Regions from separate parts of the Homo sapiens genome. Here regions 1, 2, 3, 5, 6 and 7 are each linked to region 4. The links are contacts of gene promoters, found by promoter capture Hi-C in blood cells and fetal thymus (Javierre and others, 2016). All regions are on one chromosome and are shown on one strand. Each heading gives the region's core, a stretch centred on a gene start or on the middle of the fragment in contact. The rest is flanking DNA. Distances are from core to core; before and after follow the strand shown. Region 1 has its middle 7.0 kb from the start of TPP2. Region 2 overlaps TPP2 (tripeptidyl peptidase 2). Region 3 overlaps TPP2 (tripeptidyl peptidase 2). Region 4 holds the start of EFNB2 (ephrin B2). Region 5 overlaps TPP2 (tripeptidyl peptidase 2). Region 6 has its middle 25 kb from the start of TPP2. Region 7 overlaps FGF14-IT1 (FGF14 intronic transcript 1).

The links. The method cuts DNA at HindIII sites, captures the fragments that hold promoters and counts their contacts. A CHiCAGO score of 5 or more calls a contact.
Region 1: a contact is called between a fragment that was not itself captured here and the fragment with the promoter of EFNB2 in region 4, in 2 of 17 cell types (total B cells and total CD4 T cells). The highest score is 7.0, in total B cells.
Region 2: a fragment that was not itself captured here is called in contact with the fragment with the promoter of EFNB2 in region 4 in 1 of 17 cell types (monocytes); the score reaches 5.3 in monocytes.
Region 3: a fragment that was not itself captured here is called in contact with the fragment with the promoter of EFNB2 in region 4 in 1 of 17 cell types (neutrophils); the score reaches 8.3 in neutrophils.
Region 5: a fragment that was not itself captured here is called in contact with the fragment with the promoter of EFNB2 in region 4 in 1 of 17 cell types (monocytes); the score reaches 5.3 in monocytes.
Region 6: a fragment that was not itself captured here is called in contact with the fragment with the promoter of EFNB2 in region 4 in 2 of 17 cell types (naive CD4 T cells and monocytes); the score reaches 6.0 in naive CD4 T cells.
Region 7: a contact is called between a fragment that was not itself captured here and the fragment with the promoter of EFNB2 in region 4, in 1 of 17 cell types (naive CD8 T cells). The highest score is 6.0, in naive CD8 T cells.

Annotation. Positions count from the first base shown.
Region 1 is chr13:102,588,546-102,591,406 of GRCh38, forward strand. No RefSeq gene overlaps it. Among named protein-coding and RNA genes, the nearest start is that of TPP2, 7.0 kb to the right of the region's middle. The HindIII fragment of the contact is 1,327 bases long and covers 923-2,249 here.
Region 2 is chr13:102,626,137-102,628,915 of GRCh38, forward strand. TPP2 (tripeptidyl peptidase 2) reads left to right here. Exons shown (of 30, transcript NM_001330588.2): 7 at 876-1,030; 8 at 1,712-1,788. Among named protein-coding and RNA genes, the nearest start is that of TPP2, 31 kb to the left of the region's middle. The HindIII fragment of the contact is 6,147 bases long and covers 1-2,779 here.
Region 3 is chr13:102,608,702-102,611,806 of GRCh38, forward strand. The region is part of intron 2 of TPP2 (tripeptidyl peptidase 2); the gene reads left to right. Among named protein-coding and RNA genes, the nearest start is that of TPP2, 13 kb to the left of the region's middle. The HindIII fragment of the contact is 7,733 bases long and covers 1-3,105 here.
Region 4 is chr13:106,534,272-106,537,374 of GRCh38, forward strand. It overlaps EFNB2 (ephrin B2), which reads right to left and starts at 1,391. Exons shown (of 5, transcript NM_004093.4): 1 at 572-1,391. The coding sequence starts at 693. RefSeq lists a silencer at 1,179-1,838 and an enhancer at 2,419-2,488. The HindIII fragment of the contact is 2,990 bases long and covers 1-2,808 here.
Region 5 is chr13:102,673,412-102,676,374 of GRCh38, forward strand. TPP2 (tripeptidyl peptidase 2) reads left to right here. Exons shown (of 30, transcript NM_001330588.2): 28 at 872-1,079; 29 at 2,885-2,963. Among named protein-coding and RNA genes, the nearest start is that of METTL21C, 20 kb to the right of the region's middle. The HindIII fragment of the contact is 2,614 bases long and covers 246-2,859 here.
Region 6 is chr13:102,570,356-102,573,386 of GRCh38, forward strand. No RefSeq gene overlaps it. Among named protein-coding and RNA genes, the nearest start is that of TPP2, 25 kb to the right of the region's middle. The HindIII fragment of the contact is 2,391 bases long and covers 539-2,929 here.
Region 7 is chr13:102,390,958-102,394,093 of GRCh38, forward strand. It overlaps FGF14-IT1 (FGF14 intronic transcript 1), which reads right to left. Exons shown (of 4, transcript NR_036486.1): 2 at 2,801-2,874. It also overlaps a transcript of FGF14 not described here. Among named protein-coding and RNA genes, the nearest start is that of FGF14-IT1, 2.0 kb to the right of the region's middle. The HindIII fragment of the contact is 522 bases long and covers 1,580-2,101 here.

The sequences.
Region 1 (2,861 bases), core at 336-2,835, 3.9 Mb before region 4:
TCACCTCATTCATTGGCACCAGGAAATAAGTCCTGCCAGTCCCCCACCTCATAGATACTCCATTACCAATGCTTCACTAGGGTGAAAACAAAGTGGACATCAGTGAGGCTGTGGGGGCAATCAGGACCATCCAAAAGTCCAAGTTATTGTTCCTGCTATGGACTGCATATGTGTTCCTTTAAAATTCATGTGTTGAAACCTAATCCCCCAAAGTGATGGTATTTGAAGGTGGAGCCCTCAAGAATGGGATTAGCGCCCTTATAAAACAGGCCCCAGATAACTCCCTCACCCCTTCCCCTGTGAGGACACAGTAAAAAGACAGCTGTCTATGAACCAGAAGATGGGCCTTCACCAGACTGAGTCTGCAACTTGCTCTTGGATGTCCCAGCCTCCAAAACTGTGAGAAATGAATTTCTATTATTTACAAGCCACTCAGTTTACGGTATTTTGTTATAGCAGCCTGAATGGATGAAGACTGTCCCCATGGGCACACGATAGAACTGTACTTTTCTGCCTCCTTGGACTTGGCCGCGGCCATGAAACTTGCTTTGGTTAATGAAATGTGAGCAGAAGTGATGGAAGGTCTGGAAGCTGATGCCTATTTCCCCATGTTCTTGTTTCTCCTGCCGTGGTGACCAGCTACATTCCAGACAGTGCAGCCTTTCAACCTGAATCCAAAGGTGTGACAGCTTGGAGCAGAGCTCTCAGCCAACCAGGAATGGAGATGCTGCAATGAGTAGACAAGGGCAATGTCTTTTAGCTCACCGGAATTTGGGCTTGTATTCTGCCACAGCATAGCCTGGACTATCCCTGATCAACACAGAGGTCCTAAGAAGTTATTTACTGAAAATTCCAGTGAATGTCTCACAGCTGGAGAAGGCAACAAAGAGGAGCATAGAATTGGGCCTCGTGCCCAGGATTAAGCTTGCAGATGCAAGATGCTGCCCACGAAGGGAAGCTCCCGCCTAAGCCCCCGCTCTGTGTTTCCCCGTACATACCATCTGCCCCACACAAATAATCAAGGCCATCTGCCACATAATTCTCTTATGTCTTTAAACCTACAGTCTCTAGTGTCCTCTGGAGGTAAATGGATTCACTGTTCTGCCCAGTTTCTACTGGTTCTGCAGAGGGAAGGGTGAGCCTCTGGTCCCCAGGACAGCTGTTCAGAGCTGTTGGGGAGAAAGGGAGAAAAGGCAGCTCTGGTCCCACAGATGAGAGGAAAATGGTGAGAGATTTCACCATGTTTTGTGACATACGTGAAATTAAACACACCTCACCACTCCAAGTATTAATTTCCTGTCAAAAGCACCTATTTTTCCTATATGAAAAAATCACATTTCTCCTATTTACATAACATCGGCTCTTTTCTGTGTAAAGTAATAACCCTAGCCGTATAATGCTAAAAGTACATCTCCCCATCTCTGGCCTGGGAAGGCATTTTAAAAAAATTTCTTGCATTAACTGACAATAAAAGACACCATTCTGAAATTGATTCAACTTCGATATAGCTTTTGGGGTGTCTGAGTCTTTTTTTTTTTTTTTTGATATGGAGGCTCACTCAGTCACCCAGGCTGGAGTGCACTGGCGCGATCTCGGCTCACTGCAAACTCCACCTTCCAGGTTCAAACAATTCTCCTGCCTCAGCCTCCCAAGTAGCTGGGATTACAGGCACCCGCCATCATGCCTGGCTAATTTTTGTAGTTCTGTAGAGATGGGGTTTCACCATGTTGGCCAGGCTGGTCTCGATCTCCTGACCTCGCGATCCACCCACCTTGGCCTCCCAAAGTGCTGGGATTACAGGTGTGAGCCACTGTGCCTGGCCCATTTTTGTTTTGCCCAAAGAATATCCTTTAGTATTTACTTTTTGCTGTCTTTCTGGTGACACATTGCCTCGGCCTTTGCGTCTCTGAAGATGTCTTGATCATGTTCTCTTTCTTGAAGGATGTTTTCATTAGCTACAGAATTCTGGGTTGGCGATTATTTTCTTTCAGCATGGGTGAGCTGTCGTCTCATTGTCTCCTGGTTTTCTTCATTTCTGTTTGGAATCGGTTCTCAATCAATTGCTGCTTCTTTGAAAGTAATCTTTTTTCTCTAACTACTCTTGCCTTTTCATTTTTTTTTTACTATGATGTCCCCAGATGTAGATTTTTTAAAATTTATCTTGCTTCAGGGCCATCAGACTTTTTGAATATATAGGCTTTCAACTCTCAGATATTGCTTCTAAAGCATTTTCTTTCTCATTTCTTAAAAGCTTGTTAGAACTTCCCACTATTACATCTATTACTCTTTTCATCTCTTCTGTGTTTTTCATCCTTTTATTTTTCCAGGTATTTTTTAGTATTTTCTTGCAATTTATAATTCTTTTTGGCTAAATGACAGTAACTATGAAACTCATTCTTAATTACGAAACCGAGTTTCTTAATTAAGAAACTGAGTTCCTAATTTTGTTTTGCTTTTGTATTTTTCAGTTCTAAAATTTCTTTTTGGCTCTTTCTAAATTGGCTTTGTCTTTTTTAAGTTTCTGATTTTCTGCCCAAATGCTCAACTATATCTTTATCTTCCTGAATGGAGTAAATATAGGTATTTTAAAGTATTTTGCTTCTGCCAGGCAGAACTAGCTGAGTGGGTTTCAGCCTTGGCTACCCATTAGAATAATCTGGGTAGATATAAAATATCTCAATGCCCAGGCGAAAATCCAGACCAATTAAATCAGAATATCTGGAATTCTGGGAATCTGTGGGCTCAAGTAGCGATATTTTTAAGGTTCTCCAGATGATTCCAATGAACATATACCATTGAGAATAATCACCTTGATCCAAGTTCAGGACTTAATATTATCTATAATGTGATATCCCTCTGGG
Region 2 (2,779 bases), core at 95-2,594, 3.9 Mb before region 4:
AGTTAACTACTATCCTGATCTCCATTGCCACATTAGTTTGGACCATATGATGTTGCTGTTTTTGTGATCGGAAATGATAAAATAGTGGCAGTTTCAGATGGTTCAGCCTTTTTTTCATTTATATGAAAATTCAATATCCATTTTTGTATGTGACTTCTTTAGTTCAGCCTTATTTTTGTGAGCTTTATCTCATAGTACATAGTAGTAGTTTATTGCTGTATAATTGTCAGTTCTATGAATTGATGTACATGTAACCATTTACTGTTAATGAATCTTGTGGTGGTTTTTAAGTTTTTGAATTTTATAAACAGTGTTGCCATGAACATTTTTGTGGGTGTCTTAGTTACATGTGCACACATTTTGGTATTGTGTGTACCTAGAGGTAGGATGGCTGGCTCATAGGCTGTGGCAGTGTTCAGCTTTCACTCCAGCCAGCAGTGTATGATATGTACTTCCATCCACACTTGCTTTGTCAGCCTTTAATATTTTGGCAATTCTAAAAGGTACGTAGAAGCATCTTTTTGTGGCTTAATTTGCGTTTCCTAGATGACGAATGAAATTAAACATCTTTTCGTGTGTTTATTTGCCCTTTGGGTATCTTCTTTTATAAAATGCTTTTTCAAATGTTTGAAGGGGGGATTCTCCCTTTTTTTATTGTGAATTTGAAAGATTTTTATATATTCTGGATATAAAGCTCTTTGTCAGCTATACATGTTGCAAATACTTTCCTTTGTGACTTGAGTTTTTGCTCTCCATGAACAGGGTAGCAGAGTAATGTGTATTCTTTTTATCATGATTAATAATATGCAAATTGAATTGAATAAACTTTCAGTCCATGAGAATGTTTTGTCATTTCCCCACCTTTGTGTCTCTAGGAGCTCATGGGACACATGTAGCTAGTATAGCTGCTGGACACTTTCCAGAAGAACCTGAACGGAATGGGGTAGCTCCTGGTGCTCAAATTCTTTCCATCAAGATTGGTGATACAAGACTAAGCACAATGGAAACAGGCACAGGCCTCATAAGAGCTGTGAGTGTTTGTGAGTTGTTGATTCAGAAGATTAATGATTAATGATCTTGGATATTTTTAGGTTTATAAGTGCTCCTAGTTTACCAAGAATACATTGAACTATATATAGTGTACAGGACTTTTAACAAAGCAAAAATATTTACTAATTTATTTTTAAATTATTTTTATTAAATATTATTAGGATTTGGCCTAACCTTTGTGAAAAAATTACTTACTTCATACTCGTCATTTCTAGCAAATCTCCTAACAAGCAATTTTGAGATACTTAAAAAGAAAGACCTCTTAGCCAGCTTTCTCCATCAGCCTAAGAGGAATTTAAAACCTCAGCTAACATTCTGTACGTCATTTTAACGTAGGAAAGTATATTTAATTTTAGTGATTTTTTAACCTAGGAAGGACCATTCCATTCCCTCTACCTCTGTCCCCCTCTAACCCCACTCTTTTCTAGAAATGCTAGTTTTTTGTTTTTTTTTTTAATGACTACTTTTTTATGTGTCTCCTCCTACCTTTTTGTGTTTATGTGCTTATATGTCCAGGTATATGGTGATATGCCTGGAGGTAACTTATAAATTAGAATATGATTGGCTAAGAAACTATAGGATTATATATATGCCCTTATTTTACTGGCTAATCTGTTTCTGTAAATTGCTGCCTAAACTAGAGTCTTAATCTCTTTAATAGATGATAGAAGTTATAAATCATAAGTGTGATCTTGTCAACTACAGTTACGGAGAAGCAACTCACTGGCCAAATTCTGGGTGAGTGTTCCTTGACAGTTGTTTAGCCATAGAACCTTAGCCAGTGAAGAGTATGAGATGTTTTTCATAAGTGGATTGAGTGTCACGGTGGAAGAAAGAACAGTTGCAGTGGTTAGATGATAACTGTGTTCAAGAGGACTTTCATCCTCTTGAAGTCCTGTTTGGCTCGTAGGCCGCACACCCCCGTTCCTGTGTTCACATCTGTGACGATGTTAATGCTGTTCACTGCACCATGCCTGAAGTCTCAACTCTGAGCATGCCTGTGCTGTCCTTTGTGGCTCTTCCTTGGTTAGGTCTCCCTCACAGTTCTTCTGAGATATGCAACCCACAGACTCTGGTGTTTTTTCACTGTCAGATGCACTGCATCCTCACTTCTCTTCCCAGGCAATTTAGATCTGACAATCTGTCTATCATTATAATTACTAGTTCCACAAGCACTCTGAAGCCATCCTCAGTTGTATATACATACCCGACAGACGCCCAGACTTGCTGAAATTTTGCTATTCTCTTTAGTGACTTGCATCTCATCTGCAAAACTTACTGTTGGTTGCGTATGTTCACTAACTCGGTCAGTTTTCACATCTCCTCAATCCATTCTAGTGTGTCTAGGATGCACCCCCACTCCCCTCCTTCCTCGTTGGCTTCATTGTCTTTCTGCTGCCAAATCCAGTGTCATGGCCTTGACCTAATGTTACCTTCCTTTTTTTCTTCATAGTAGTAGCTATTTGAAATTACCTCGAGTATTTACTTGTTGATCATCTCTCCCCCATTCCCATCACCAAGCTATCATCTGGTTTTTGAGACATCACTTTACGGTCCTCGTAACATGCACCCTGTTATCATGAGTCATTTCATTCTTCCCTCTTCTCTCACTTCTTTATTTTACTTAACTGTATTTCTTTCTCTACTTTAACTTTCATCCTCTTGAAGCCCTCTTTTGCTAATATTCTTCCCTTTCTCAGATACTCACACTTACAACTTTGAAGGGTCC
Region 3 (3,105 bases), core at 181-2,680, 3.9 Mb before region 4:
GTTTCTTCCCTCCCCTTCCTCCTGTTCTCCTTTCTTAGTCTCCTATTCTGCTTCCTCCTCTCCTTTCTCCCTTTTTCTTCACCCTCTCCTTCCTCTTTCTCTGCCTCCTCTTCCTTGTTCTCTGCTTTTTATGTTAGATATTTTGTTTAGGTGTCTAATCATCCCTAGCTGTCTTATTTTAGCAAGGCACAAGAAAAGGTGATTGGAAGCTCCTCTGCTTATGTAGGGTCTTTTGGTGGGTTTCACTATAGGGTAATGATAACATTTAGGGGAACCCCCATAATATCAGTATACACTATATTTTTTTCCCTCAGGATGCCCAGTTACCTTAAAGAAGTCCTTAGCCCATTTGGCCTGGGGTTTAGGGGAGGAGTGAGCAAGAAGTCTGGCCGTAGGTATTCAGGTAACCACACCATGCAAGGGGCCTGGAGTGATGTCATGCAGACTCATTTTTATGTCTCATCCTTTTTGTATTAGTTCCTTTTCACATTGCTATGAAGAACTACATGAGACTGGGGAATTTATGAAGAAAAGAGGTTTAATCGACTCACAGTCCTACAGGCTTAACAGGAAGCATGACTTGGGAGTCCCAGGAAACTTACAATCATGGGGAAGGTGAAGGGGAAACAAGACATGTCTTCTCATCATGATAGAGCAGGAAAGAGAGCCAGCAAAGGGAGAAGTGCCATGCTTTTTTTTTTTTTTTTTTTTTTGAGACGGAGTTTTGGTCTTGTTGCCCAGACTGGAGTGCAATGGCGCGATCTCAACTCACTGCAACATCTGCCACCCGGGTTCAAGCGATTCTCCTGCCTCAGCCTCCTGAGTAGCTGGGATTACAGGTGTCTGCCACCACACCCGGCTAATTTTGTATTTTTAGTAGAGACAGGGTTTCACCATGTTGGCCAAGCTGGTCTCAGACTCCTGACCTCAGGTGATCTACCTGCCTCAGCCTCCCAAAGTGCTGGGATTACAAGCGCGAGCCACCGTGCCCAGCCCCCATGCATTTTTAAACCATTAGATCTTGTAATAATTCATCATCACAAGAACAACAAGGGGGAAATCCACCCCCATGATCCAGTCACCTCCCACCACATCCCTCCCCTGACACGAAGGGGTTATATTTCGACATGCGATTTGGGTAGAGACAGAGCCAAACCATATCACCTGTTCTTTGCTTTGTTGACATGTCAGCTTTTCTCTGGTTCAGCTTGGTTGGTGAAGTTTGGGCAGGATGTGGGATGGGGCAATGGGAGTGCTCTTATACAAATTTTCCGCCAGTCTTCTTAGTCAGAACTCTCTTCTCCATCCATCCATAACATGTACTCACACACATGTTCAGTTTAATTTTTTTCAGGGATGTGCAGGTGTTTAGATATTTTGCAGTAGTCAATAAAAGGAAGAATTATTAATCACTGGGATTCTGACTAGTTGCATCTCTGCAACTCTTTAGTACATAGTTTTCAGAAAGCAGCACAATGAAGTCTTCAAGTTTCTTTGATGTAGTCGTGCATTTATTTATTTATTTATTTATTCATTTATTTATTTATGACAGAGTCTTGCTCTGTCGTCCAGGCTGGAGTGCAGTGGTGTGATCTTGGCTCACTGCAACCTCCGTCTCCTGGGTTCCAGCAATTTTCCTGCCTCAGCCTCCCAAGTCGCTGGGATTATAGGCACCCGCCACCATGCCCGGCTAATTTTTTGTATTTTTAGTAGAGACTGGGTTTCACCATGCTGGCTAGGCAGGTCTCGAACTCCTGACATCAGGTGATCCACCCACTTCGGCCTCCCAGAGTGCTGGGATTACAAATGTCAGCCACCGCGCCCAGCTGTCATGCTTTGAAATGAATTAAATGTTTATAGTCTGTTTTTTCCACATAGCCCATAAACTGCTAACAGACTTTTATTTTTCTGTCAGTTTAAGATCAACTGTTAAGTTAGGTGCTTTGAACACTTTAGTAGCCTCATTCTCTAAGGATGATATTCCTAGGCTTCCTTGAGAAACCAGTGGTAAGCTACTTATGACCTATGGTACTCCCATGAGCAGATAAAAGTACAAAAGTGAATAGAACTTTAAAACCTTTTATTGCAAAATATACATACATAAAATACATAAAACACATATATACAGTTTTATGAATAGTATAGCTAACACCATTGTACCCACCCAGATCAAGATAAAGAGTATTGCCGTACATCAGAAACTTCCTGCATCCTCCTATATCACAGCCTATTTCAACTTTTGTGATAATCATTCCTTTGCTTTTTTGTGTGTAGTTTTACCATATCTGTGTGGCTACATAAAATATATTGTTTAGTTTTGAACTTTACATAAACAGTCTCATTTCATTCATAAAATTTCATCATACGTCATTTTTCCCTTGGTGTTGTGAGATTTCAGATTCCTGAGACTTGCCCATGTTGTCACGGGCAGCAATGATTTATTAAGTTTCATTGCTGTGCAATATGCCATGGTTTGTACCTACTACATTCTATCCATTCTGCTGTGATGTGTGTGTATCCTGTGCACATGTGTGTGGATGTCTCCAGAATGTGTGCATAGGAGTAGAATTGCTGAATCATGGAGATATGTCACTAGGTCATGCCAAACAGTTTTTCCAAGTGCGTGTTTGTTTGTTTTTTAACTGGACAGGACATCTTCTTGACCAAGTGTCTGTATTAAAGGACATTTCCAGGCCGGGCACGGTGGCTCACACCTGTAATCCCAGCACTTTGGGAGGCCAAGCACTTTGGATCATCTGAGGTCGGGAGTTCAAGACCAGCCTGACCAACATGTCGAAACCCCCTCTCTGCTAAAAATACAAAAATTAGCTGGGCATGGTGGTGCACACCTGAATCCCAGCTACTAGGGAGGCTGAGACAGGAGAACACAGAGGTTGCAGTGAGCCAATATGGCGCCACTGCACAGCAGCCTGAGTGACAGAGCGAGACTCCTTCTCAAAAAAATAAAAAAAAGACATTTCCACTAGCAGTGTATAACAAATGTTTTCTGACCCCATGATCATAGAGATATTCTCCTATATTTCTAAGAAGTGTCACAGCTTTTCTCTTCTGTTTGTTCTAGAATTCACCTGGAAGTGATTTTAT
Region 4 (3,103 bases), core at 141-2,640:
CTCCCCGCGCACCCTCGGGCTGGCGGCGCGGTGCCAAGGCGCCCCGGCTCCAGGGCTCTGCGGGCAGCGTAGCGACTCCAGGCTCCCCTCTCCAGAACGCGCTTCGCTGCCAGCGTCCTGCCACCCCGGTCGCCCGCCCGCGGGCCCCGGACCACGCCGCCCGCGCTCCCCGCGAATGCAGCATCTCCGCCTCTCTCCAGAGCCCACCAGTCCCCGCGTGCCGGCCAGCCTAGATTGTGGCCATGTCCTTCGTCCTCGAAAACAGGAGAGGGTCAGGTATCGCCATCGGACACCTTCCCGGACTTGACACCCGAGCCGATAGTAGCTTTTAGCGCCTGGGAGCGTTCGGGGGAGGAAAGGCGGAGAGACCGTCCGTTCCAGCGGGGCTCGGGTTGGAAAGCCGAGCGAGGAGTCTCCACCTAGTGAAATGGGGCGGGGGTTGGGGGTGGGGGACGGGGAACCGAGGTTCCAGAAACAGGCTCCGAGGCCCCGCGGACTGACCCCTCCTCCCGCCCGGACGGCGCGGCGGACCCCGGGGCGGGGACATAGGGGGATCGCGGACGCCACTTACTTGGAGTTCGAGGAATTCCAATAGATAGGCTCTAAAACTATCGATTTGGAAATCGCAGTTCTGCATAAAACCATCAAAACACCCCAGCAGTACTTCCACACGGAGTCCCTTCTCACAGCCATGGCGAAGCCACTCCCAGCTCCGCGCACTCCGGGCCAAGAAGGGACTGACGGGACGCAGGCTGGGACCCCCAATCCTCCGGGGCAGACTGGCGGGGAAGACGGCGTGCGCCCGCAGGCAGCTCCGAGGCGCGCTGCGCAGCTCCAGCGGTCGCCGGGCCAGGTGCGCTCGCTCTCCGGGGCCCTCAGGGCGCGGGGCGGGAGCGCACGCGCGGGGCGCGGCGGCGCGGCGGACTCGGGGTTCCGGGGCGCCGCGCCGGACGCAGCTCGGACGGCCGACTCCCGTGCGGCTCCAGGGTGCCGGGCCGGCCGCGGCTGGCGGGTGGGCGCGGGGCGGGTGCGGGCTGGGACACAAAGACCCGGAGCGGAGACGACCGGCGCGGGCGGCGGGCGCTGCGCCCCGAGCGGGGCCGCCTGTGACTATAGATCCAGTGCAGCGGGCAGCGGCCCGAGCGCGCGGGCGCCGCGTCGGCGCGGTTCCATGTCCCGGAGCACGGAGCGGAGTAGGGCGCCTCCGGGCGCGCAGGAGCCTTCTCAGTCCGCGCGGCTCCCGGCCCCCAGGGCAGGAAAGAGGGAGCTCGGTCCCCGCCGCGGGCTCCGGACGCGCGCGGGCCTTTGTGTGCGGGGAGGGCGCCGGGACCCGCTGCGTGCGCAGCTCCTCGCTCCGGCCGGCGCCGCGGTCCCCGCCGAGGAGAGTCAGCGCGGCCGCCGCGCTGTCAGAGCGCTATAAACGCGGGGCCCCGCCCCGCCGCGCGAAGCCCATTGGCCCGCGGCTCCGCGGCCGCGCGCTGGTTGGACGGCCGGTCCGTCCGTCCGCCATCCCCTCCCGACATTGGGTGCCGCGAGGCGGGGCTCGGGCTGACAGGTGAGCCCCGCCCCTGGCTCCCGCGGGCGGCGGGAGCGGAGCAGAAGCCGGGCAGGAGAAGCGCTCAGCGCGTGCACAGGGCGCCCCCGGGGCGGCGAGAGGCCTTCTGGGCGCGGTGCAGACGTGGAAACAGCGACGGCCGAGTAGCGGGCCACCTGTCTCCGCGCCCGGGGGCGCCTTCCCCCTCGGCGGAATCAGAGGGCGCGGCTTTCCCTCGAGCAGTGCGGAAGGCAGCAGGCTCCGCTCGGCGTCCCTTCTCCGCAGATGCGGCGCTGCCCCGCGTGCAAGACTTGCACTCCGCGCGCACCCTTAGAGCTCCCGGCTTCTGCGCGCTTCTCCCGACGCCTCTCGGCGAGGGCTTCTCACTTGATTTTGGTACCAATCGCCTACGGCTCAGTTTCAGTCAGTGGGGCCGGGAATTGCAAGACGATTCCTGCGACGCGGCGCCGGAATTTGCAGCTCTAATCAGGGCCTGAGCATCGTCGCCTCCCGCCTTCTCTGCGGGCGTCTCCCTTCCCTCCTGGCCCCCCGGGAAGGTGGCGCCCCTGGAGCTTTCCCCGCGTGTCGCCGGCACAGGCACGACGCGGGGACCGTCTCACTAGCCTCTAGGAGACACGCGCGCTTCCCAAAGTGACCAGAGATTTAGAGGGTGTGAGATGGAAAAGTCAAGGCATGTGCTTCTCACTCGGCGTCTGCAAGACCCCAGAGCAGAGCTGGCAGGAACTCCTCGCTACTTTCCCGGTCGAGCGCCGGTGCTGACGCTCGTCCGTGACTTCCACGGAGCCACAGCGCCCACTAGCGGCCAGCTTTGCTTCTCCGCATCTCGAGCGCTCTGCGGTCCACCGACCCGGATCCAGCATACTGCAGCATCTAATCAAGTCACAGTTCCAAGGAAAATCTTTTTATATGTCCAACAGTAGGAAGAACACGGTAGAAATAAGGCACAGTGCAAATGTACGATTCAGTATGAAAAATTAAAATATACTGTATGCCCACGTTTTTTTTCAATTTAATGCCGTCCACCCCAGGATTTATGTTTCAAACACAAACTGGGCAGTAATTCTACAAATTATGTATTTTTAAAACAAAGTATCCACTACGCTAAATTTAAAAATGCATATGGTAAAACACCTTGTTTTCTTTCACTCTTCTTTGTAACAATTTCTGAAGATTTTTATGGTACGTTGCTTTTAAGTATCCGTTTTTGAAACATTAGTCTAACTTAACGTATACATCTCAGTTGGAGTGGTAAAAGCTTGTGAAGACTAGTTTAAGATAGAAAACACATTAAGGCATACAAAGTACTGAATACACTTACTCTTCCAAACAGATCTTTGAGAGCAGAAAAGTTTCATAATTTATTTTCATTTTAAATAAGCCTTCAAACTAAATATATATATACACACATATACGTATACACACATATACACATATTTATACATATATACACATATGTACGTATATATATACACACACATATATACGTATATATATACACATATATATATGCACACACACACATATATATATAAAATTTATTTTAAAAAG
Region 5 (2,963 bases), core at 303-2,802, 3.9 Mb before region 4:
TCACGTGTATCTGACATAAGTTGGACAGAATGCCTCAAATAAGCACACATTCTAGAGACTAACACTTTTCCCTGGAGTGTAGGTGGTGGTTGTATTTCATTCAGCAATGATTTATTGAGTTTCCATTCTGTGCCGGGCATTGTCCTAGGCACGTGGAATGCATTGAAGAAAACAAAGATGTCTGCCCTGGATCAAGGCAATGTGCCGTAGTGATTAAGAGCACAGATTACAGATTTCTACTGCTAAGCTTAGAATCCTGGATCTGCCACTTCCTAACTGGAGGACCTTGAACAAATTGCATAGTCTCTTTGGGCCACAGTTTCTTCCTTTGCAACATGGCAGTAATTAATAGTCTCTTACTCAGAATTGTTTTGAATGTGAATGAATTAACATGTTAAAATGCTGAGACAGTTGCTGGCACATTCAGAGTAAAGCATTACATTTATTTGTCCTAGTCATGAACTGAAAGTTTTAAGACATAACCTCTGGGTATACACATAGACAAATGTGTAATGATTACTATTTATAAGAAAACTGAAAACTCAAAAGTCGTTTACCTGATTAAGAGTTATATAGCTAAAAAAATTTAGAATAGTGATTAACCTTTCAACTCTGTTGCTTCTGGCATTCCGTTTCAACCAGGTGCAGCTACCCTAACTCATTTAATCTATATGTGTAATATAGTAGCTCATTTGATGTTTATTAATAAGGCATCATATTTGATGTACAATACAATTGTACGTACCTGGATATACAGTATTTCTGCATTATAAATCTTAGGCAAAAGAATACATGAATTTAAATTCAGATAAGAATTTACTTTTAAAGACATTTTACTGATATCTGAAATATTTTTTAATTTGCTGTACAGTGACATGGACAAACAAAAATCCACCCTCGTAGATGCCCTTTGTAGGAAAGGTTGTGCCCTGGCAGACCATCTTCTTCACACCCAGGCTCAAGACGGAGCCATTTCCACTGATGCAGAAGGAAAGGAGGAGGAAGGAGAAAGTCCTTTGGATTCTCTGGCAGAAACATTTTGGGAAACTACTAAATGGACTGATCTCTTTGACAATAAGGTAACGTTTCTGCTTCTTGTTTCAGCAAAGTTCTTGGGGTTACCTCACAGACCTCTCTTGTGCCCCATTGCTGGTTAAAAGAGGAAGAAGATAAATGGAAAGAATCTACGCTGGGCTCTGAATATGACATGTTTAGCCTAGTACTTCATGTTTGTCTCACCTTTTTTTAAAAAACATTATTTTATGGTACTGCAAACTGGCTGTTAAACCACAATAATTTTAAAAACAGTTTGAGAATATGTGTAGTAGGCTTTTAGTTAAACCAGTTATGTATGTAGCTAAATTAAGAAAGTCTTCTAGAAAATGCCTTCAGGCCCACCCTTCTCTAGTTATATGCTAATTTGTTGGTGGTAGGAGATTGGGGGCAGGTTGAGGAGACATACTGGTTAGTTGTTACTTATTTTCCTCAAAACTCTTGAATTTCTCAGTAATTATCATCTTGATTTGTAGCTAATCAGTTTTAAAACCCAATTCATAAAAGCATCGTTGATGAACTTTTTTGGATTTTGGTTACAAAAACATTTTAAATCTCTTTTAGCTCTCTACTATAATTCTTGCAATAGCGTTTATACAAGTTATTAATCTTCTTTTCCTGTGGAAATAAAATAAAGTAAATGGAGTCAGTAGGATTCCCCTCGCGTATCACAGACCATCATTTTGTTTTAGTAGACAGGTGCTTGTTCTCAGAATTAACTGGTAATTTGCAGTAAAGAACCCTGGAAGTGGGAAGAAAATTCTTATATGGTTCAGATTTTTCCAACACAGTACAGTGGTGCATTTAAAGAAGGTACTCAGTTACTCAGTTATATTTGGGAAACTGAAGGAGCCAGTATTGCAGCAGAGGTCAGGAATTTGAATCTGAAATTAGAGCCCTTGAGTTTGGCTCCTGCCTCTACCACTTTTATGTATGACCTTAGGCAACTTACAAAATTTTGATACCTTAGTTTCTTATCTACACGACCTGCCTTAGGCTGTGATGAATGAGTATTAAGTACATGCAAAGTCCCCAACAATATTTGCTGTTATTGCAAACAATTATTGAAGGCCTATGTGCCAAACACTACTTACTACTGGAAACATAAAGATGAATAAGAACCTGCTTTCTGTCTTTGAGGAATGTAACAGAGATTGACAAACACTTGATGAACATATAATAAAATTGTTATAGATCATTCTATTTTTGCAATACTACTACTATATTAGGGGCTATGCATTCTATTACCTGTTTACTGTGTTTACTGTGTCTATGGCAACAATTGTTAAATACTTTAGTTGCCTTTACAATACAAATCAGTGTCAGGATTTTCTTTGAGTACATTCTCCACATTCCAAAGTAGAGACCAAAAATATATATAAATGATTATAAGTATATTTGACAGATGCAGTAATTACAGGTAAAAACTTGTACCAAAGAAACCATGTTTATATAATCTAATACTTGTTTTTTTACTTCTATCCTCATTTGCAATTTTGGCATTTTTTATTTCTATCCTGATTTGCATCTTTGTAATTATTTATGTTAGCTCTGGTTTCTTGTGCATGAAGAGGTATTTTTAAGTGGATTTCCACGGCTAATAATTTCTCATATTAGTTTTCTTCCCAAAAAACAGATGGTTCATTCTGTGGAATACTCAGCTCTTTTGAAGACACCAATTTTCTTTTTCAAAGTTTTTAAAAATGTACTCTATGTACCATATTCATTTCAAAAGCTACACTTCTGTTAAAGCCTTAATTTTATGGTTAAAGCTAATGCCTTAAAATGTAAATTATTTTATAAACAAGCTTTATCATGTTTTACATTGTAGGTTTTGACATTTGCATATAAACATGCATTAGTAAATAAAATGTATGGGAGAGGCCTTAAATTTGCAACTAAACTTGTGG
Region 6 (3,031 bases), core at 484-2,983, 4.0 Mb before region 4:
GCTCAGCACGAAGTTCCTGAAGCACCCAGATGACAGCCTTATGTTCAGTGTGGTCACCTGCACTGCCTGATTATACTTGCTAAATACTAAGATGAAAATACACTTGCTCTATCTCCTGCTTTCATTTCTTCTCTCTATCTCTCAGTCTCTAACTCACATGTATTTACCCGCTTTGCAAGTTTCTGCATGTCCATGTTTTTAAATGTCCCTATAAGCAACACTTTCCTAATTCATTTACTGTATCAAAGAAAATATCTCCTCCAGTACCTTCATCCCCATTAAGCCTTGGAGCTAAGTACTCCAGAAATATCATCCATTACTTTTTCCTTGAAAGTCATGCAAAAAAATTATGACATTTATATATAAAGATGGTTTTTTTCAATCTAAAGATGTTGAAAAATCTCCACAGTAGGAAACTATTACTACAGACTGCATATGAATGCCTGTATCCCATGAGATTCTACCACCGAGTCTCCCGAGATGGTGTATTGAAAGCCCCTTTTAACCTGAACTCTTCATTTGGATTGCATTTGCAGGAAGCTTGTAAATGCTGTATATAGGGAATATTTGTTGACTGATGGAATCAATTTAAATGCAAGTCGTGAGTTTTAAGAAAATTAAAGCAGCTTTATATAGAAGTGAAGTTAAGGCAAACTCCATGGCTTGCTGTGAAGTGGAATTAGAGTGCAGGCACAGATACCAAAATCTATATTCTTCACTCCTGGCACTGGCTGGTAACAACAAAAAAATCCTGAAAGGGATCTGCTGGAGACAGGATTGGCGAGAGCAGGGGAAAAGACAAACGGCACTGCTTCAGCTGGAGCACAGAGGACAGGACCCGTTCAGGAGCCAGAGGAGGAGATGGAAAGCAACCCACAGAAGCCATGAGGCCCTGGGGGCTCTGGTAGGACACAGCAAAGAAATGCAGGTGGATGGTTCCCTCTATTGGTGAAAAAATTGCAGATCATATTAGTTGCATCATTGATTTCTGGGAAACAATGAAGAAAATATCGGCAAAGGTAATATCTGAGGATACCAAGGTAAGGTGGGGAAATCTCATTTGCAATTTTAGGAAAGGAATCCAGTTTGGTGGTCTGGAGCATTTGTAATAGCAAGCCAGAGTCACATGGAAGCCCAGGAGCTCGCTTAATAACTTATTTTTATATTTATTTATTTATTTGTTTGTTTTGAGCCAGAGTTTTGCTCTTGTTGCCTAGGCTGGAGTACAATGGCGTGATCTTGGCTCACTGCAACCTCTGCCTCCCAGGTTCAAGTGATTCTCCTGCCTCAGCCTCTCAAGTAGCTGGGATTACAGGCACCCACCACCAGGCCCGGCAAACTTTTTTTGTATTTTTAGTAGAGACAGGGTTTCACCATGTTGGCCAGGCTGGTCTCGAACTCCTGACCTCAGGTGATCCATCTGTCTCGGCCTCCCAAAGTGCTGGGATTACAGGCGTGAGCCACTGCGTCCAGCCTTAATAACTTATTTTTAGGACAAAATGTATGTGTAGATTTTATTATATGCAGAAACACAATTACATTAAATCTAGCTCTTTGTTTCATAGTAAATTAGAGCTTAGCACAAATACTATTCCTCCTGTATAAATGATTTATTTAGCTAAACAAATTACATTGTAATTCTCCTCAGTTTAAAAATGTAGAGCTTATGGGTTTTCAAAAGGTTCAGGGGAAACATACTAAGTTTCAAAGCCTAAAACTGTTAACATTCCTCCCTTATTCTTACTTTATCATGATATGCTATGCTGCAGATGTTTCTCAGAGACATTCAGTGAAAATCTAAGTCTCTCTGTTCATCATTTTTAATAGCCATGTGAGTTCAAGTCTTCAAGAATGGTTGAAAGGGGACAAATAAGGAACTCTCTTTTCTTAAATTAAAAACAAGAAAGTCTTCACCAACTTAAGCATCTGGGAAGCTATAAACTGAGAGTAATAAAAATTGATTAACCTTAACTGGAGAAAACTCCCACAGACCTTGAAATATTTTTGTGTAGGAGATAAATAATACAGCTGACTAATGATCTCACAAGTGCAAATATAGAAGACGAACTGGAGACATCTACAGGATCTTCCTTGTTCGGAACACTGCTCAGGTCTTTGTTCTTTGATGGAAATCTACATTTACGAGCCACCAGATCTGGCCTGTCAAACCTACTTTTCGTTTTGGTGACTGACTGATATCCAGATGACATGAACAGCGTTTACATGTGACACATAAATATGTGCATGCAATTTAAGAGCTTTGCCGGTCATCAGATTTGGAGAAGGAATAAAGGAAAAAATCATATGCATTTTTTAATATTTACATATCAATACAAGACTAAATTTCAGTCTTTGTGCCTCATAGTGAGATCAGCAGAAACTCTGCCTGCTTTTTTTCTATTGAGAAGTTCAACAACTTTAGAAACAAAAAAAAAATTACCGTTTAATTCTTTTGCAGTACACATTTTAGTCTAAAAAAAAACCCTTTATTATTTTCCATGATTGAGAATCAGTGTGTCCTTTTTGCTTAAAAGTATCAAAGAATGAAAAAGGATTTCATGCATCCAGATATTAATTGAGGAAGCCGCTAGTGGCCTTTGCTGTAAGAATATTGATATTTTAAGTACATTTTGAAAGGTTGAATAAGTGAAAATAAATAGTGCATCTATGCTCATTGAGTTTAGACATTTAGATCAGAGATTCTCAACCTGAGAGTCTCAATAGAAACTCTATTGATCATTTGTGAGATTTGTCTCAAGAAAGTGTTTGCTCCTAATGAAGCGTTACCAGGAGCAGTTTGAGAGGTGGGGAGTTTTCTTATCGTGAGACTGGACTCAAGATTCAGTGCAGTGGCAAAGTCATTGAGCTTTGCACGTCAGAGGGAAATAAAGGTTTTCCTTAAACAAAGAAACTCTCATTCGTGTTAATAAGCTTTTCTGAGGGAGAAAGAGAACGATGAAGTGGGGAGTTGTACATATCTTGTATCCGAATTTCACAGTAAATAATCATTACTGTTGAACCTTAATAGCTG
Region 7 (3,136 bases), core at 591-3,090, 4.1 Mb before region 4:
AAGAAAAAACTTAAGCCGAATAAATATCATTTTGGGTAAATGTTTCAAGTTCAGACAGATGTTTCTCATTTACTCTCAGACAACTATTTTATTATTTTGGGTCTATTTTCCTAATGTAATGAATGTAAAAGAGGTAAATCCAATTGAATACTAATCCTGATCTTGCCTGAAGAGTAAGTTGATGACAAAATTTTTGAAAAACATGACTAAAAAATATGTAAAAGGACAAAATCTAGAATCGGATAGTACAAATACAGGGAGAAGGAGACAAAGGGATGAAATATCAGTACTGGAAAAGCACTTTGCTACAACAAAGGGCAAGCGGTCTGACAAAGCTGGGCGGACTTTATGGCTGCATATCAGACCACATACTAACTATAGCATTCATGTCACAGTTAGTATCCCCCATACAGAGTCACATCTGCCACACATGTACCAGAATGGCCTCAGTACTGTGTTGTTTAAAATTATTCCCAACATTTTAAAAGAAAACTAGAAAAGAGATAATAATAAGCAATAATGATGTAAAATTTTTATCCTATATCAAATTTCTTAACTGCATCATTAAAATATCTCTAACATTTGGTACTGATCTCATTAAAAGTATTTCCAATATTTAACAGTCATTATTATTTGTCTGAGATGTGAGGTATTTTATGTTACTTGTCATGTGAGTTGAAAAAATTTTTAAAGGTACAAGAAAAAATAATCAAGTTAATGGAAAACATCACTTCTCAGGAAACAAATCAACTCATTTAGCAATGAAGGAGGAAAGAGCATATTGTGTTACTGCTTTCAATTTGTCCCAACAATAAAATGCTAAGGCCAAATGATGGTTACTACTGAGTGCTTACGTAGAAAACTGACTCAGTTCTCCTAGCAGACAGGGTCCTTTCTTTGCTTAAAAGTTACAACACCTGGTATACAGCAGCAATACAACTAAAGAAGATGAGTTTCAGACTACAAATAAGTGGCTGTTGAAACAAAAAGGACTACAATTATGAGATATGATTTCTCTTTTAGTCTTTAAGCCTTCTTATGTTCATATTTCTTAAAGTACAATATTATACCATGTGCTCCACACAGGAAGTGGAAAGAACAGATATTACAATCCCTCCCAAGCTACACCTTTAAGATGCAGCATTACAGATAAGGTTACCACACACTTCAGTGATCCACTATAATTGTGCAGACAACAAAATGCTACAGGAGGAAAAAAAGGCATTTTAACTACATTCATTCCTATCTAAAAAAGCACGTGTGCAAACTTACATATGTAAATTCAATAAAGTTCATACTTCCTTCTCTTTTCTTGCCAGACCTGAATAGTAAATCTGAAAACTTGGCTTTTAATTGCACTACTTGACTCCTCAAACTGAACAAAGTATTGTGTCCATAAAAACATCTGCTATTGACAAAGAATTGTACATAATCGTTTAAAAAAATCATTTTGGCATATCTTTATTGTAAAGCATTTTTTCCCAGTCCTAAGGATTTTCGGGTTTGAAATCAAGATGAACTTTTTATCCCACAGCAACTCTCCCAGAACTGTCCATTTAAATTTTAATCTAGAAAGAGAAGCTTGTCTAAGTCTCCTACTTGCTGTTAAAAGCTACCTCGGCCCCTCAATATAAACAGTCAGAAGACAGCCAACCATGTCTCAAGAAGATGGAAGTGTTCTGTTGGCAAATGGCCAGAAGACTAGCTCACCAGAACTGTCCAAATCAAAAACCTGTAATCAGAAAATTCCAGACTCCTCCTTCAACTTCCTTCCCAAATTCAAACTGGCCACTAAGATGGATGGACTTCACTTCCTCTCTAGTGCCTGTCACTGCCTTATTCTGGACCGCTCACCACTGCTCACTGCTCTTCCTCCCTGGTCTTTCCACCTTCAACCTTGCCCAACCCAGAGCTGTTTTCCACGCTGTAGTCATAATGGTTGTCTAAAGGGTAGATATGATCATGACACAGAAGAGAGCTCACGATCTGTGCCTCACTACCTTGCAACCCCACTCACTACCTGCCACTCCCTAGAAACACCCTCTATTTCTCAGTTGTACTTGATATTCTCGGTCTGCACCACAATCTTTGACGCCCCCAAAGCTTAAAGTATGCTTCTTTCTCTTCCTTGACAGCCTAACCAGTGCCTTTACCACGTGGCTAACTCTTAGTCATTCTTCATGACTCAGTCTGAGTTTTATTCCCTCCAGAAACCTTTCCATGCCCCTCTTCCTTGGCCCTATAGCACCTTGGTCCACCTACACAGAATTGTTCACCACATCATAATTGATCCTGTCTTTTGTCTTTCCTGCTAATTCCTTGAAGGAAGAACTCTTCTTCACCCCTGTATCTCCAGCATCAACAGTTCAAACACAGCAGCACTTTTTAAGTGTTTACTAAGTTTTGTTTTTTGTTTTTTTGAGATTGTAGTTACTGAAAAAGTGATAAAAAGCACGTGGACCTAAAAGAAATAATTCATAAATTTCAGAGTTGTAATAAACTCTGAAAATAATCTTTTTCAACTTCTTAATTTACAAATGAGGTTTATAAAAAAGATTTAAGAAAGATTTTTCCCAATAGCATGGATATGAGAGAAGGAAAAATAAACTAGTGAAGATACCCTCCCCTACCCCGAAAATCTTAAAACTGTCTAAGGAAAAGGTATCTGGGGAATATAATGGATAAATGGAATGCCATCTATTTCAGCACCAACCACACAATTCTATGAAGCGCATGAGGAGCTCTTCCTAGTGTCACCAGTAAAATACGCGTTTCTTCACCCAAGGCTCAAAGCTTCTACCTGTGTTTGTGCCTACAATTCCAAAACTGGCTCTTGGAACAGTCGCTTCCTCCACTGGGAAGGAGTTGCCACACCTGTAAAAGGAACAGGTTGTTTGTGATCGCTAAGGTCAACCTCTTATCTCTGATGGTCTCTGAATTTAGAGTACAATTTAAATATATAGTTAACATAGTCCGGGAGAGATACAGGGAAGGGGTGAGGGAAGTTTACTTACAATCAGGACTGGGTGTGAACGTTATGGGAACCTAGAATATTAGAGCTGGGGCTGATCTGGGATTACTCTAATCAATATCCTTCTTGTAGTAGCCGAGGGGACTGAAGCCCAGAAAACTTCAG